3 separate regions of the Homo sapiens genome follow, and all the other regions are linked to region 3. The links are contacts of gene promoters, found by promoter capture Hi-C in blood cells and fetal thymus (Javierre and others, 2016). All regions are on one chromosome and are shown on one strand. The core of a region is centred on a gene start or on the middle of the fragment in contact, and the rest is flanking DNA. Distances in the headings are between cores, read along the strand shown. Region 1 overlaps LOC105374928 (a long non-coding RNA gene). Region 2 overlaps LOC105374928 (a long non-coding RNA gene). Region 3 holds the start of GCM2 (glial cells missing transcription factor 2).

The links. Contacts are between HindIII fragments. The CHiCAGO score rates a contact against its expected background, and 5 or more counts as called.
Region 1: a contact is called between a fragment that was not itself captured here and the fragment with the promoter of GCM2 in region 3, in 1 of 17 cell types (M2 macrophages). The highest score is 6.0, in M2 macrophages.
Region 2: a fragment that was not itself captured here is called in contact with the fragment with the promoter of GCM2 in region 3 in 1 of 17 cell types (M1 macrophages); the score reaches 5.6 in M1 macrophages.

What each region holds. Positions count from the first base shown.
Region 1 is chr6:11,522,140-11,525,474 of GRCh38, forward strand. It overlaps LOC105374928 (a long non-coding RNA gene), which reads left to right. Exons shown (of 5, transcript NR_187824.1): 5 at 492-1,985. Among named protein-coding and RNA genes, the nearest start is that of TMEM170B, 14 kb to the right of the region's middle. The HindIII fragment of the contact is 2,040 bases long and covers 972-3,011 here.
Region 2 is chr6:11,496,425-11,499,963 of GRCh38, forward strand. The region is part of intron 3 of LOC105374928 (a long non-coding RNA gene); the gene reads left to right. Among named protein-coding and RNA genes, the nearest start is that of TMEM170B, 40 kb to the right of the region's middle. The HindIII fragment of the contact is 3,374 bases long and covers 192-3,539 here.
Region 3 is chr6:10,879,841-10,883,452 of GRCh38, forward strand. It overlaps GCM2 (glial cells missing transcription factor 2), which reads right to left and starts at 2,201. Exons shown (of 5, transcript NM_004752.4): 1 at 1,864-2,201. The coding sequence starts at 1,953. RefSeq lists a silencer at 2,096-2,390. The HindIII fragment of the contact is 9,517 bases long and covers 1-3,612 here.

The sequences.
Region 1 (3,335 bases), core at 742-3,241, 640 kb after region 3:
GAAAACTAATTTTTGCTTATATGATTGAGAAAATTATCTTCACATTTCACATTGCAGACTCTGTCTACCTTCAGTGAAATATTTTTGGCTTAGAAAACTAGTGTCTAGAACACATTAGGTTTCAGAAACAGTTTTTTGGCACTTCTGTAAGAAACTCCACTCAACTTATTGTGAAATTGTATTAAGTAAATTAAGTGAAAATTGTTTAGTAAGTATTCAATATTGTGTTAGGTGGTATAGCTATTAAGGGAAAAAAAGATGAGTTGTGGCCTTTGCCCTCACTTGTCTGATAAAATAGTTGAGAAGAGACGTAAAGCAACAATTAATAAAACAGGACAGCTCAGAGTAATGTGTATGCTGATTTTTAGAAGTTCTGAGATGAGAGAGAGAAAGATGGAGCAAATATAAACATAGAAGCTAAGAACAGAGGACACGGAGAGAGCAAGTTCATCCTGCATTTCTGACCACTTTTCTGTTATTCTTTCCTTGAGGCTCCACTGAAATGAATGAAACCTGAAATGGTAGAGAAAACTGCATAGAAGAGGTGAGATTTGATCTGGGGCCTGATGGAAGAGGCAAGATTGGAGAGGATAAAGGGTTGAGTGGATAACATAAGTCACAGCACAGAAATGAGAATATGCTCAGTTTTGCAGAGAAGCAATGCCTAACTAGAGTACAAGTGCATATTGAAGCCATGGGAAATTATACTGGGTGAAGATGGTGGATAAAGAGATGTCAGAGGAGTGTAAACATGAAGCAGCAGAACATAGGGAATGGCTGAGCACAGGGAATAAAAGAATTAAAATTGGGTTTGGAGAGATTAGTTGGTCAAGGTTATGCAAGACACACTGGAAGGGTGGAGACTGGCATCAAGCCAGTTAACTAGGGCATTGCTGTAGTGTTCCTTCCATGAGACAGCAAGGACTTGGGCCAGGACATGTGTGTCAGTGCATATGGTGAGACAGGATGAAAGCTTTTCAAGGAAGAAAAATACCTGGCTTGAGCATGCTGGGCTAGAGATGATGGTAGGACTTCTTGTCTAGCAGGAGTTTGAAGGTATGAGGCTGGAGCTTAGGGGAGAGGGCAGCAGGGAGAAACAGACTGACACAGAAGGGAGAGCCAATGGCATAGAAGTTACAACTGAAACTGAGAATGGAAGAGATTTCAGAAAGAAAGAATGTGAAGGGAAGGACAGAGAAATGTGAGTTGGGAAGCACCCACATTTAGGACATAGGATGAGTAAGATGAGCAAGCGCAAGAGGGAACACCCGGTCTGGAGTGTGAGACTCAGAGTGTGGCCAGAGAACCAAGGGAGCAGAGTGCTAAGGAGGAGGATGTCACCACTAGGGCAGGAAGAAGCTGGATGATCCAGAAGGTGAGGTCCTTTAGGAGAAGAGTTTCAATGGCAATCTGGGACTGGAAACGGGATCACATGGATGAAGGAGGAGCAGCAAGGCGATGGGCCAGTGGTCACATCAAATAGTGAAGCAGTTATGATGACAGGCTCTGATGGTCACAGTACCTGAATCCTGGTTCCACCCAAACTGTACAACTTAACGAGTAGAAGTGTATCTAAGTCCCAGTGCACTGGGTTGAATATGGTCCCCCAAATTCATGTCCTTCCCAGATCAGAATGTGACCTTCTTTCGCAGTAGGGTCATTACAGACATAACTAGTTAAAATGAGGTTATAATGGAGAAGGGTGGCTCCATAATCCAATATGACTGGTGTCCTTATAAGAAGAGGAGAGAGACACAGAGAGAGACATGCACAGGGAAGACACCCAGCGTGATGACAGAGGTAGAGACTGAGGTTATGCAGTTGCAAGCCAAGGAACGCTAAGGACTGCCGGCAACACCAGAAACTAAGAAAAAGGCACAGAACAGAGTCTCCCTTGAGGCTTCAGAAGGGGCTTGCCAACACCTTGATTTTGGACTACCAGCCTCTAGGTCTATGAGAAAATAAATTTCTGCTATTGTAAGCCACCAGTTTATAGTATTTTATTATGGCAGCATCAGGAAACTAATATACTCATCCTTAAAGTGAGGAGAATAACACTTTGCTCATAGGGAGGATTAATATAACATGAAAAATGCTTAACACAGTGTCTGCCCCATAGAAAGAACTCAGTTAAAGCCAGGTGCGGTGGCTCACACCTGTAATCCCAACCACTAGGAAGGCTGAGGCAGGAAGATTGCTTGAGGCCAGGAGTTCGAGACCAGCCTGGGCAACAGAGCGGGACCCCATCGCTAGGGGAAAAAAACGGAACTCAGTTAAATGTTGGCAATATACTGTGTTATTCTTTGAAGAATTTTTATTGTAAGGGAAAGGAAAAAGTGATCTTAGATGAGTCAGGTAAACAATAAAGTGAATGTTGTTTTCAATTTTGTTTCTCTTTTAATAGGAGTTATTTGTGTATATTTAAACACAGAAAATAAATAAGATCTCCAAGGAGAGGAAAATAGCTAAAGAATTGGGAGATGATATGATATCTTCATCGAAGACCAAATCTGGTGCAAATGAAAGATTTCAAGAGATGTGACTGTAAAGTAAAATATTTTTAGTTATGTAGTATTTTACTTTATAGTCACATTTGTATCATTTATAATTCCCAGTTGATATTACCCTTCAGAGAAGACACTCTGGAAGGTATGACTCTTATTCTAATGTTGTTACCATTAGCTCAAATACTTTTGAATTTTCTTCAAAACCAGGTTATGAATTACTCAGACAAAAGTTTTACCTCTTAAGATACACCTCAGTTTTGATCAAAATAAATATTTCCCAGGCTGGTCACTTAACTGACACAACACCAAACAACTTCTGACTATATCCAAACACCAAATCTACCCTCACATTATACACATTAGCACCATTGAGGGCTTTTTTAAAAATGGGCCAAATATTTATCAAAGCTGTTTTTAAATACCTAAATATGAAAAACAAAATTCTGATTTTAAATGGAAAATCAACCTTGTTGGCTTAAATTCCCAATGACTTCAAACCAGGCAAGCTTTTCAATATAAGTTTTTTGAAGTTATGTATTATACATAAATCTTTTCACAGTCATTAATAGCCCTAACAGGCTACTGTGACTGGATCAAAAATAAAACTTCCAAGGGGTGTATTTCTATTTCAAGGGGTGGATGTCTACTCAGTAATTTCAAAGTAAGTGATCAATTTAAACCCATAGATTTATTATTTTCATTCTCATGTCTTAGACCTCAGTATATATGAGAAGGAAATGGCCTTGCTTTTCAAAGGTTTACAAAGAATAGAAAGGAATAAACAATAATTTGAAAATGCTTAATTATCTATTCACACCATGTTCAAAC
Region 2 (3,539 bases), core at 629-3,128, 620 kb after region 3:
GCTGTCAACGGACAGTGTGCCCTCTTGCGCACGGAAACAGTAAAAATACTACATAAATATTACTTAAAAATACTAAAACTACCCCACAAGAGTGACCAGTTAACTCACTTTCCATGCAGGGTGCTAAGGACTATTTTTGTATGGTTGTTTTAGTGTCTGTTGCTATGGAACAAATCATCTTAAAATATAGAAGCTTAAGACAACAAAATCATTTATTATCTCCCACGGTGTCTATGGGCCAGGAATTCAGAAGGAGCTCTGTCGGGTGGTTCTGCCTGGAGGCTTCTTTCACATGAGATCGCAATCAGACAGTACTTGGGGTTATTGTAAAGCCTCATTCGCTCCCGTGTCTGGTGTCTGAGCTGATAAGACTGGACAGGCTGGGGTGGGAGCTTCTCTCTGTCTCTATGTAGTCCCTCTTTAGGGTTTCTCAAGCATAGCCAGACTTGTTTCATGTTGGCTCAGAACATCCAAGGTGGTGTCCCCAGAAAGAGAGCCAGGAGGAAGCCGTGTTGCTTTTTATGATCCAGCCTCAGAGGTCAGGAAATGTCACTTCTGCTGTGTTCTGTTGATAGAGGTAATTGCAAACGTCTACCCAGGTTCAAGGGAAGGGAACATAGCCTCCACCCCTCAATACAGGAATGTCAGTGTCACGTCAGAAGAAGAGCATGTGGGATGGGATATATATTTGTGCATCATCTTTGTAAAAATACAATCAACCACAATTGTTTTATTTAATCATCCTTCACCGTAAATGAAGTTGCTTCGATATATCATTATCCCAATTTTACATTTAAGTGAAAGCAGAAGGAAACATTAAAGATCTTCTTACGCCCTTTCGGTGTCATACTAGAGCATTGCCTAATAAGCTGTCAAAAGTGTCATCTGTACACGATTCTCAGTCTTGGCGCTATTGAAATTTTGGTCTGGGTAATTCTTTGCCGTGGGGGCTGTTCAGGGCGTAATAGGTCATTTAGCAGTATCCCTGGCCCCTGCCCACCAGACACCAGTAGCACACCTTCATCCCTTTAGTTGCGATAGCCACAAATGTCTCCAGACATTGTCAGATATCTCTGGGGTGAGGAGAGGGCAAATGTTCCCCCAGTTGGGAAGTTTTACAGGAAGAAAGTTACTTTGATTATTTGCTATTGATGAAGGTGAGACTCTTGTAAAGTTAATGTTAACTTGTGGAGGATCATTATGTTGCAATTCATTTCTGTCCAGTAGGAAATATAAATCCTACAGATTATAGTTGTGTTGTTTTATAATTTACCAGTTTCAACTTCACTTGCAGTCTTATTCCAGCATTCTTTTTGTTCATTGACTATATATAGTAATTTTTCTTCTCCTTCTTCATTCATTGATAAGTTAAATAAACCTTTGTCACATGTGTGCATACACACACACACACACACACAAACGCACACACACACCAGCTCCTTGGCAGAATGCAGAGTGAGAATTCTCTCCAATATGGGGATATGGAGCTATTATGATCTCCCTTCAAGAAAGAACTTGTAGATTAGCTGTGAGGGTGCAGTTAGGTGATGGCCTTGGTTGCAGTGCCTCTGGTTGCTTAGCCACAGCAGTTGAGCTGAGGCCATGCTTTTCCTAGGCAGACCTTTAACAGCTAATGAGCACAGTGGGCGTGCCAGGGCCTGGCCCTTTCTGTTCATCATGGAACTTCTCCAACAGGCAGCCTTTGCTCTGGAGCTCTCTGTTGGGCTGGCTGAGACTTTTGCAGGACAGCACTGCAGTTTGAGACTCTTCCTAACTAACCCTCCTTCTCCCTCCCCTTTCACAGGTGACAGACCTGCATCTCTAGCCTTTTTGTGCTTCAGGCACAACTCAAAGCTGCCAATAATCATGTTGCCCAATTTGTGAGCTGGAACTGCAGTCTTTTTGTTTTTTTGAGACGGAGTCTGGCTCTTTCGCCCAGGCGGGACTGCAGTGGCGCTATCTTGGCTCACTGCAAGCTCCGCCTCCCGGGTTCACACCATTCTCCTGCCTCAGCCTCCTGAGTAGCTGGGATTACAGGCGCCTGCCACCGCGCCTGGCTAATTTTTTTTTGTATTTTTAGTAGAGATGGGGTTTCTCCGTGTTAGCCAGGATGGTCTCAATCTCCTGACCTCGTGATCCGCCCGCCTCGGCCTCCCAAAGTGCTGGGATTACAGGCGTGAGCCACCACGCCTGGCCTGGAACTGCAGTCTTAAGTGTGGCATGAGTTGCCTTCAGAACCCAAAGAGGCCTACCAGGCACTTCTTTTTTGAGGTATGAGATATAAGATGCAGCAATTTATCGTTTGCTTTGGAGGGAATATTCCAGCATGAACCTAACCACTGGATTCCTTAAATCCTCATTCATCTTTTCCTCTCTGGAGCATGAGTGTTTTACCAAGACCTCCAGCATACTAGCCACCTCTTGCTTCTTCTGGCCAATGAACATGATGTCATTGATGCAGTGGATGGGTTTGATGTTCCGTGGGTTCAGGTGATCTAGATTATTTCAGACTATTATGGCAAAGGGCAGCTGAGTTAAGATAGCTCTGAGGCAAAGCAATAAATGAATATTGGAGTCTGTCCACGTGAATGTGAATTGTTCCTGATCTTTTTTTCTAATATGGATAGAAAAGGCACATTCACCAAATAGACAACCACATGCCACGGGCCTGCGGCCTGTTTAATGTGCTCCAGCTGTGATCCCACCTCTGGCACAGCAGCCGCAGTCGACCACCATGTGATTGAAACTGTACTCATCTGTTGTCATTCTTCAGAGTCCATCCACTTCCTGCTGGGGGAGACTAGCAATTAAAAAGAGATATGATAGAGACGACCAATCCCTATTTTGTATTTACCATCTTGCCTGGGGGACAGTTTCGGAGTTTCCATTTGGCCTCTCCCACTATGATAGCACTTCCTCACTGACCAAGGAACAAATATAGGGTTTACTCCAACTGCCAAGTACATTCATTCCAGTGATACATGGAAATGGAGAAATGCTTCCTGGGTGAGTCTACAGGTTCTGTGGGCCCACTCTGTGCCAGACCCAGCTAGGACTCCATTCATTACTTGATTCTTATAAGGCCCCACTTCAACAAGGGGTCCGGGTGTCAAGGTCAACTCGGAACTTGTGTGCAATAGTCTAGACCTTCCCTTTCCCTGGCATACAGTCACCTAAGCAAATGGTCGTGGGTCCCTTTAGGGAAGGATGGGACAAGTCATCTCGATATAAACTTGTTGCAGTGTTGCAGGGTACTTATTCTTAGGGACCTGGCTGTCTTTTTAGTCAATGGATTTTGGACCTGAAAATTGGCTCAGTTCCTAGAATTGAGGAAAGTATCCTGACTTTTTACTGGGGCAATTGCTGTCAGCCTCTTGCCCCTCCTTTCTTGCCTTTTCTCGTTGTAGATGTTAAGCGTCAGCCTTGTTTGCCCTTATCTATTTTGCCTGTGGGAATGCCATGCTCCAGTATCCATCCCTCCACCTCCTTGAAGGTCAAGCCCCTTTGATGCCTCTGATCTTCCCGGTCGTTACAGTAAC
Region 3 (3,612 bases), core at 951-3,450:
AAGATATGATTGTTTCCTGTGAAGATGTACATGGACAGAAACAGAATGAGATGCACTTGCTGTACTGTGGTCCACTTTCATGAAAATGGTACCATGTGACTCTAAAGTAGGCAGACTTTAAAACAAAGGAGTGGGCCAGGCACGGTGGCTCACGCCTGTAATCCCAGCACTTTGCGAGGCTAAGGCGGGTGGATCAGCTGAGGTCAGGAGTTCGAGACCAGCCTGACCAACATGGAGAAACCCAATCTCTACTAAAAATACAAAATTAGCTGGGCGTGGTGGCGCATGCTTGTAGTCCCAGCTACTCGGGAAGCTGAGGCAAGAGAATCGCTGGAGCCTGGGGGATGGAGGTTGCAGTGAGCTGAGATCGTGTGATTGCACCCCAGCCTAGGCAACAAGAGCTAAACCCCGCCTCAAAAAACAAACAAACAACAACAAAAAACCCCAACAAACAAACAAAAACAAAGGAGTAAAACACACCTAACCTACTACAAATATATGGATCCAAAAAAGTGCTGACCTCTATGAGAGGCGACACAATGTTGCAATGAATTGTTATTCATCTGAACACCTATCAGACACATTTTAGTTGCGGACAAAATGACCCATCTCTTTTATCCCTGTGCCACAACATTGCTGGAAGCCCACATCTGCAAATGGCAGGGAAGCAACTCTCATTCTACACCCCCCACCCCCTACAGCCAGGACTTCAACATCACTCAATTTTGGCCCTAACCAGTGTGACTAATGATAATTGGTCATTCTCTGGAACTGGCTTCAAACCACCCACTTCATTCACCACTTCATCCACCCCAGTCATTCTTTGGACTTGGCTCCAAACCATTTTTGCTTTATTGAAATAAAGCAAAATACAACAAATTCACCCTAAAAGAATGATGATTTGCTTGTCATTAGAGAAGAAGTAAGTTTTGGGTACAGGTGGCCTTGTTGGCATGACTATGGGGCCTCCTTCCTCTGAGCAGTTAGGGAGGTCTGAGCAAATTGCTCAAGTCGGGCTACTTGTTTTAAATTTAGGTCATTAGATTCACTTTACAGTTGTACCTCAGTTTTGCTGCATGAGAAGCAGTGGTATTTACATCTGCTTAGATTTTCTCCTTAGCTTCCTCATGGATTTAAAGTAAATGAATAAGGAGAGAGGCACCTAATTTCTACCTTGGTTAAAGGGAAGTGAAAGGACAGGCGTCCCGCTCTCCCCAAGACTGGGAATGTGGAGCCTGACCAACATTTCCTGCTGCTTTGCTTGTGATTTCAGGCAAGCACAAGGAAATTGCTGGGAGAAGACACATTTCTTCTTCTTCTTCTTCTTCTTTTTTTGAGATGGAGTTTTGCTCTTGTTGCCCAGGCTGGAGTTCAATGGCGTGATCTTGGCTCACCGCAACCTCTGCCTCTCGGGTTCAAGCGATTCTCCTGCCTCAGCCTCCCGAGTAGCTGCGACTTTAGGCATGCGCCACCACGCTGGGCTGATTTTGTATTTTTGGTAGAGACGGGGTTTCTCCATGTTGGTCAGGCTGGTCTTGAACTCCCGACCTCAGATGATCCACCCGCCTCAGCCTCCCAAAGTGCTGGGATTACAGGTATGAACCACAGCGCCCGGCCAAGAAGACACATTTCTAAACCCAACTCAGCCTTTTGTAGAGTCCAGTTTTCTTTCTACACTTGAGAGGGCCTCAGAAACCCAGAAATTTTGCGGGTATGTGTGTGTGTGTGTGTGTGTGTGTGTGTGTGTGTGTGTGTGTGTGTGTGTGTATGGTCCGTCCGCAGACTCTTCAAGAACTCGAATGCCATTCTCCCTCCTTCGGATGGACAGCGCCCCGCGTGCCCGCACACACCCGGTTCACTTACCTGAGGCATCTGCGGATCGTTGATGTCCCAGCTGAGCTGCATCCCGTAGGAGCACACGCCGACCGCTTCCTGCACCGCGGCCGCCGGCATCTGCCCAACTCGCTCGCGCTTTCCGCCCAGGGTTCTGAAAAATAGAAGAAAAAAGGACAGGTGCGCCAGGTGGGTTTTTTTTCTTCTCTTTAAAGAAGAAAGTGGGGTGTGTGAAGGGGAGGTGCAGAGAGAGAGAAAGAGAGAGAGGCTGTTTAGATATCTGGAAGCTGGGGACAATGGTTATGGACCCGGGCGGGGCCTTGTCCTTGGCCGCGGTGCTGAACGTTCTCCACCCGAACGGCAGCATCGACCTCTGGCAGCTGCCCCCTCCTTTATAAAGATATACCTCCGGGGGGCTCCGCCCTGTCTCGCCTACCTCGCTAGCGCCCACGCTCCAGGGGCCGGTCGCCCCCTCCACCACAGTCCCAGGAACGGAGGTGGAGGTTAAACTCAGCCCTGGAAGCAAATGGAAACTGCAGCCAGAGGGTGGGGGTGGAGAGGGTAAGTAGGAATGTATCCTTTAAGTTTAAAACCTTATTATTTTCTTCTTTTCTTTTCTTCTTTTTTGTCTCACTCTGTTGCCCAGGCTAGAGTGCAGTGGCGCCATCTCAGCTAACTGCAACCTCTGCCTCCCAGGTTCAAGCGATTCTCCTGCCTCAACCTCCCGAGTAGCTGGGAATACAGGTCCGTGCCACCACCCTGGCTAATTTTTGTATTTTTAGTAGAGACAGGTTTTAGCCATGCGAAACCCTGACCAAGCTGGTCTTGAACTCCTGACGATCTGCCCGCCTGGGCCTCCCAAAGTGCTGGGATTACAGGCGTGAGCAACCGCGACCGGCCTATTTTTTTTCTTTTTTCTAAACGCGTCCAGCTTCCCTGATTTCGGAAAGGGGCTTAGATGGAGGCTTTCCAGCAAAGTCCCCTGAGAGCCAACACTCAATTCCAGGAGAGCATGGGAACCGTGCGTGGGCCCCTCTGCCGTCCGCGTGCGCCCTAGCCTGAATAACCGCGCCCACGCCTCCTAGTTAGGGGTCAGCCCATTTTGGGCCTCCACTGCCGGCTCTTCCCCTAACTATTGTGAGTGTCTCGCAGTCTTGGCTCTGCTGTTTGGGACGTGCCAGGGTGCGCCAAGCCTCCGCGTATGCTCGCGAGCCCAGGCGCCTTCACGCTCCCGGGGACTTCGGAGGGACCTGGCCCTGCAGGAACGGAGTCCTACAAAGTGAACCTGGAGGAGGTGGGGGGCGGAAATGAGCCCGGGGTAGGTGGGAGCCTGGGGTAGGTGGGAGCCTGGGGAAGGAGGGAAAGGGGAGAGGGGAAAAGTCCCAAAGAACTCGCTTTCTCCACTGCTTTGGCTCCCTCTGGGTCTCAGCTTCCTTATCTGTTTATCTGTTAAATAAGAGGTTGTGGTTCGGCGAGCTCTCAGTTGCCACCCACCCGAACACAAATCTTTTTTTTTTTTTTTTTTTTTGAGACGGAGTCTCACTCTGTCTTCCCGGCTGGAGTGCAGTGGCGCAATCTCGGCTCACTGCAACCTCCGCCTCCCAGGTTCAAACGATTCTCCTGCCTCAGCCTCCCGAGTAGCTGGAACTACAGGCGCGCCATCGCGACCAGCTAATTTTGTATTGTTAGTAGAGACAGGGTTTTACCAAGTTGGCCAGGATGGTCTCGATTTTTTGACTTCGTGATCCTCCTGTCTCGGCCTCTCAAAGTGCTGGGATT